Linked DNA regions of Homo sapiens: region 1 is linked to region 2. The links are contacts of gene promoters, found by promoter capture Hi-C in human tissues and cell types (Jung and others, 2019). All regions are on one chromosome and are shown on one strand. The core of a region is centred on a gene start or on the middle of the fragment in contact, and the rest is flanking DNA. Distances in the headings are between cores, read along the strand shown.

Evidence for each region. The method cuts DNA at HindIII sites, captures the fragments that hold promoters and counts their contacts. A contact is called where the count stands out against the background at its distance.
Region 1: a fragment that was not itself captured here is called in contact with the fragment with the promoter of SLC26A3 in region 2 in 1 of the 25 tissues and cell types used here (neural progenitor cells).

What each region holds. Positions count from the first base shown.
Region 1 is chr7:107,854,766-107,858,230 of GRCh38, forward strand. It overlaps LOC105375444 (a long non-coding RNA gene), which reads right to left. Exons shown (of 3, transcript XR_927850.3): 3 at 1,714-2,351. Among named protein-coding and RNA genes, the nearest start is that of DLD, 35 kb to the right of the region's middle. The HindIII fragment of the contact is 4,620 bases long and covers 1-3,465 here.
Region 2 is chr7:107,801,777-107,804,871 of GRCh38, forward strand. SLC26A3 (solute carrier family 26 member 3) reads right to left here and starts at 1,447. Exons shown (of 21, transcript NM_000111.3): 1 at 1,335-1,447. The HindIII fragment of the contact is 6,982 bases long and covers 1-3,095 here.

The sequences.
Region 1 (3,465 bases), core at 110-2,609, 53 kb after region 2:
TTATGATGCAAAAAGGCAGAATGGAAAGCCATGGTTGGCAAGATGATGACAAAAGCTAAATAAATGTCCTTGACCTAGAACTACAGAGAAGATGTTCTCTGGGAAGACTTGTGAGTGCACGTCTCAAATTTCGAAACTCTGATCTTCCTTGCCAACCCCTACCCCACCTCTATTCCCCTCCAAAGCCCTAAATATAAATCGCTATGTCTTCTTTCACAAAATAGAGACCAAACTCCTCGTCAGGCACAGAATATACAAGGCTTTTCTTTGGTCTAGACTCTCTACCTTTCCAGCTTCCTCTTCAGTTATCTCCCTCTCATAATCCATGCTCCAGTCAAAGTGAGTTATTGTCCTCATCCTCCATTATGCTGTGTCTTACCCCCAACACCCCCAGGTCATGTTCCCTCTCCACTAGACCCTTTCCTCCCTGCTTCACGTGGTGGAGAGTCTTTGGCACGTGTTGACTCATGTCCTCTGGATCCTCTCCAAATGTGTGAGGACATTCCTCACTTGTGAGCCTTGTTGGGAGACAGTGCTTGTCTTCCTTTACAGAAGTTGAAAAGACCCAGCACTCAATCTGCCGCTACCTTGGCAGATAAGATGTGGGGAGATAGCCTTGGCTTGGTCCATCAGCTGCACCTATTAGCAATATTGAATCTGGAAGTAATGATACAAACAAGCAGGGCAAGGAAGACTCCCTTTGGCCGTGGTGGTTGGCAGGAGTGAGGGGGGCAGCAGCATGTGATTTCCAGCAGCCAGTCTGTGATGCCACACCACCAATGGCATCCTCACCTCACTGGCACCACTTTCCCAAATCTTGTTCTCCATGTTTCCTAGAAATTGTATGATCATCTGATAGTCTCTCTATACATTCTCTGCTTAAAATGGCCAGTCTGTTTCTGTCACTTGCAATGAAGACTCTGACTGGCTGGGCACAGTGGCTCATGCCTGTAATCCCAGCACCTTTGGAAGGCCAAGGTGGAAGGATCCCTTGAGGCCAGGAATTCAAGATCAGCCTGGACAACATAGCAGACCCCATCTCTACCAAAAAACAGCTGGGCATGATGGTGCATGCCTGTAGTCAAAGCTACTAGGGAGGCTGAGGCAGGAGGATCACTTGAGCCCAGGAGTTTGAGGCTGCAGAACAAGACCCTGTTTCTTAACAAAAAGAAAGCCTTTGATATACCTGGCCAGTTTCTATTTGTCTTTTGAGACTCCTCTCAGTGACTATTTTCTTGGAAAGCAGTGCTCATCCCTGCCCCACTCCTAGCCAGTGTTTCTCCTATAGACTCCCATAAAAGTCTGGTCCATTCTGGCTCAGCGTTTATGCTGACATTAATAGCATTAGTCATATTATTAATGCTGACATTAATCACAGCATTTATTAACACTGTGTCAGGACCTGCCACTAACTCACTTGTCCCCCTTCTGGGCTGTAAGTTCTTGAGGACACAGACTAGGTTTTGCCCCTCTCTATCCCTAGAACCCAGAACAGTATGTTAACATGGCATGCAGTAATAGCATTACAGCAACAGTACTAATACCAGTAATAACAATAACTTTTATTGAGCACCTATTATGTGCCAAGGTGCAGAAAAAAATGCTTATTTGATAAATAATGTACACTGAAAATTGCTCACCGAATATTTTTGAATACTTTCATACTCACAGAGTATTTTTGTATTTTGAATACAGGCAACCCTGAGGAAAAATTGGTACATCCCACTTCACCAATTAATTCCCTTTTCATTTTCTCTCTCTTTTCTCCTTCTGGATATGTCTCTTGTGTTCCGCTCTTGCCCTCAAATAGATGTTATTTAATACCTAGAAAGATGAATAGCAGTGGCTACAGTGTTAGTTGCTAGTGACTGCGCTTGCCTTTCAGAAGAAGCTTCTTATAGTGTGAAAAGTTTTCAGAAGGAATGAGGTCTTTATTGTGGAATGCCTTACAGTAGGCCATACTTGTTTTTATAGCTTGGGTGCAGGAGCTGGAAATAGAGGGAGAATGCCTATGTACAAGTGTGCGAAGGAGAGGGAGAAGCTGCTCTCACCCCACTCCTGACTTCTTGTCTGCTCTCTTCTCAGCAAAGTCCTCTTCTGGGGTCTTCCTAGGCCTCACAAAGCTGCTCCCCAGGCCTTGGCCAACCACCTTCCCTGGAGCAGGCTCTCGGTGAGAAAACCTCATGGAGAGAAGAGGCCAGGAGTCCATGGCCACTCCTGTTTACTTTCCCATTCCCATCCTGCATGTTCCTGCCTCCTGCCTGAGTGAACACAGATTGACATGCCCTCTGTGAATGGCTGCAGACCCTTGTTCCAGTTCAGCTCTGTCCAGCACCTGTCATATGTATTACCTGAAAGAAAAACCTGAGATCAGCAGAAGATCCTCAGAGCAGACAAAAATTTTTCTTAAAAACAACAAGACAAGTGAAAAACAGGACAAGGGTGGGGACAGGACAACAGCAGGCTGCACCCAGAGAGTGCACCCAGGTCATCGGCTGTTCTTCATTTCTGACTTCCTGCTGGCTGTCCTGTGAGGTTGAGGTTACGTGGTTAGAGAAAGCCGGTTACTTGTTTCAAAACAAACAAAGTCCTCAAATCCTTTGAACAGCTAAAGGAATAGAGCACTCCTTGAATATGTATTCTTTCATATCCTCTGAACAGATCTTTATTTACAAGGAAGGCTGGTCTTGGCTGGAAAAATGGTAGTCAGATGTAGATCAAAATGATAATCTCAGAACACAGCACCAAGTGTCTTTTGCATGGGCCATGGGACTTAATGTCTTGATAGAACAGAGGATGTCAAGGAGAAAAAACTGAAGGCCACAAGAAAATGTGAATTTTTTAAATAGTTTACTCTGGTTGGAGGTTTGCCATATTCCTGACTCAACTTTATAATGTTTCCCATTTCTAAGCCAAATGGCTCAGAAGTGTGGCTGGGGTGTGACCTTGACCAGGTACAACCATGGCAATGAGTCTCTATTCTTTTTACTTTGGAATCCAACCAACACGTTAAAGCTCTTTGAATGTGGGTATCATATGAGTCAGTGCATGTGTGCTGACTGCCTGCTGTCCTCATAACACAAAGTGGAGTGGGGGCTATGGAGGCTACTGGATTATTTCCGTCAGTGTATACAGCAAAACTAAATTAATCCCCAAGTTTAGGCTTTTTGACCTCGAGTATCAAGACTAGTTTACTTGCATTGTGCAAATTAGTCACCAACCTACTTTGTATTATAGAGAGTTTTAAACTTTTGTGTATTTCTCCAGATTTGCATCAATGAGATTTTTGAAGTCAGCTTTTAAAATAAATACTAAAATGTAACTGCTTTTGGGATTCTTTTTCTTTATCCACCACACCACGAAAGTAGTAAGTTCCAACACTTCTCACCATTTGCAGTGCCACAATCTGGTTCAAGTCACCGTCAGCTCCCCCTTCAACACTGAGGAAGCCTCCAGGCCCATCTC
Region 2 (3,095 bases), core at 197-2,696:
TTTTCATTAGGAATAATCCTTGGCCGGATGGGGTGGCACATGCCTGTAATCCTAGCACTTTGGGAGACTGAGGTGGGAGGATCACCTGAGGTCAGGAGTTCGAGACCAGCCTGGCCAACATGGCGAAACCCCGTCTCTACTGAAAATACAAAAAAAAAAAAAAAAAAATGCCAGGCACAGTGGAGCGTGCCTGTAGTATCAGCTACTTGGGGGGCTGAGGCAGGATAATCACTTGAACCTGGGAGGCAGAGGTTGCAGTGAGCAGAGATTGTGCCACTGCACTCCAGCCTGGGCGACAGAGTGAGAATCCGTCTCAGAAAAAAAAAAAAAAAAAGGAATGATCTTTATGCAGTCAAATTTCATGACACAGTTTTTCCAAATGACTAACTTACTTCAGAAAAGAGAATTATTTAGTCCAATAATTTGATAAATTGTTCCTCACTTGCATATATAAAGAAAGTTGTATAATCTTTTCCTGACATTTTAAAGAATAAAATAGATTTTATCTTGATAGAGTTAGTAATGTATGGGATAAGTACCCATACATTACTAATGTATTATATTATATTATACTACTTGTGGCATAGGGCATTCTGCTACTTTCCAGTGACCATTTTCTCCCCATCTCTCTTCTCTTTCCAGTCTCTATCCTTCTTACTCTCATTGCCTTTTCTTCTCTCCGTGTTTCCCTTAGTCTTGGACTTTCTAGGATGTCTAGCAGATAAATCTCTCACTTCTAGACCATATGTCCCCTACCCCCTCCCTTTTTTTTTAAGAGACAAGGTCTTGCCATGTTGCCTAGGCTGACCTCAAACTCTTGGGCTAAGCTATCCTCCTGCTTTAGCCTCTTGAGTAGCTAGGACTATAGATACATATCCCTATGCCTGGCTGGGACCAGATGGCCTTTCTGAATCCTTTCTAGTAGGTGATTCTCTCTCCTGGAGAAACTCTTTCCTTAAAGCTTGCTTTTTTTTTTTTTTTTTTTGCCAACCCTCAGAGCAGACAATCTATCTATAAAGTCAGATTTGAGTGGAGAATTAAAGGAATTATCTGAATAATTAAAACAAGAACACTAATATCTTTGAAAAGGCTATTTAAGACTTAATGATGCCTACAACCATTTACTTGTTAAAGTCTACTTAAATATTTATTCTACATTGCTAGCGCTCCAGACATACATGCATATCTTATTAGTGGATTCATTCAAAATATTCACACACATGGAATAAACTCAAGAACATAATAACTCCTAAATAGGCTTTGATCAGAAAAAATACCATTTTCAAGGAACAGAAAACCAGTTTGAATATAACAATCATAAATTTGGTTCCTACCTGACACATACTCTGTGAGGAGCTTCTGCAACAGTGGTACATTTTCAAGATAAAGTTCTAAGTTCTAGTTCTAAGAGGCAGTGTCCATCCACTCAGGTCTACAGGCTCTGTGTGCATCCATATGCATAGGGATGTCTATATATAGGCTATGTAAGACAGTGGACAAATTACCTTTCTGTCAGCTTTAATAATTAACTCTCATTAACTTTTACAACAATGAAAAGACTGCAATGTGGTCTTGACCTTTGAGACTTTGATCAGCAGAAGTGATGATGAAGATTGCTTCCTCAAGTTCCTTGTGAGATTAAACCACCAGTGGGTGGTTTAATGCACTTGTGTGTACGTAATTTCATTGGTTTGCAGAGATTGCACAGCAGATGCTCACGTGTACTTAAAAAAAAAAAGAATCTTCTCAAGGGTTATCTCCTTGACATTTCACCAACCTGTTTAGATGAGAGTTTAGTGGTGGTGTTTTTTGGCTGGATGACTCCATGGAATCTGTCATGGGCTGCAGAAGTGTGGTGTATAGGTTAACTCCTGGTATGATAAAGGCCCTCATTAGGAACACTCACCCAACTCCCAGCCACAGGCCATATCTGCATTCCAATTTCTGCCCCCACCACAGCTCTTCCTAAGAGCAATAAACCCTATGTTGCTAAACACAATGAATACTTTCAACTCTCATCTTACTTAAAAGCATTTGGCATTGCTGACTACACTTTCATGAACTCCTCTTTTTATTTTAAAAATTATTTAACTAATTAGTTAATTTTAGAGATGGGGTATTGCTGTGTTGCCCGGGCTGGTCTCAAACTCCTGGCCTGAAGTGATCCTCCTGCTTTAACCTCCTGAGTAGCTGGGATTAGAGGCCTCAGCCATCATGCCGGGCTAAAATCTTCTCTTCTTGAAATGCTAAAAAAAAATTTTTAACACACTTGTTTTTCACCTCATCCTTTTTGCCAATTTCTCCTCTAACTCTTTCTTTGGCATTTCCTAAGATTCTGTTCTGAATTTCCTTCTCCTCTCTTGCTACCCTCTTACCCTAAATAAGAGTCCTATGGCTCCCAGCAACATTCAGATTTCTAACCCCAGCTCTCTAGGTCCACATATTTAACTGCCTATTCCACATCTTTGCTTGGATGCCTCATAGGCATCTCAAACACGACACATATCGAGATTAAGACCTCTTGATCTTTCCTCCCAAATCTGCTCCATCTCTAGTCTTCCCCATTTCAGTAAAGAATATTCCCCTTTACTCATGTCAGAGACCTGGGAACCATCTCTGACACTTCTTCTTGCAGACCTTCTCCCCACCCGCAGCCAATCCATCCTTAAACCCTATTGAGCATGCCTCCAAAATACATCCCAAAGCCATCACTTTTCTTCATCTTCACTCTTACCTTTGCTGCACTTCTTGCTTCCTCTCGCAGCCCTCCCCATCTCTTTACCACTCATTAATCAGAATGATCTTTTCACACTAGTCCTCTTTGTGGGGCTGATGATTACACAGAGGGAAAACAGGCCTCCAAAGTCTTTGCATGATCTCCCCCTGCACAACTCTCCAACCTCATCTGACTCTGCTCTTACTTTTGTTTTCTCCACTCCCACCATGGTGGCCTCCTGTAGTCCCAAATTTGCCCACTCTTTGCAGACATCATTTTCTCTGCTTAAATGCACTTCTCTCTCTCTCTCGGTTTGGCTGTTACTTAGCTTCAACATCACTTTCTCAAGGAGAACCACTTTGACTTCCTAATCTCAATT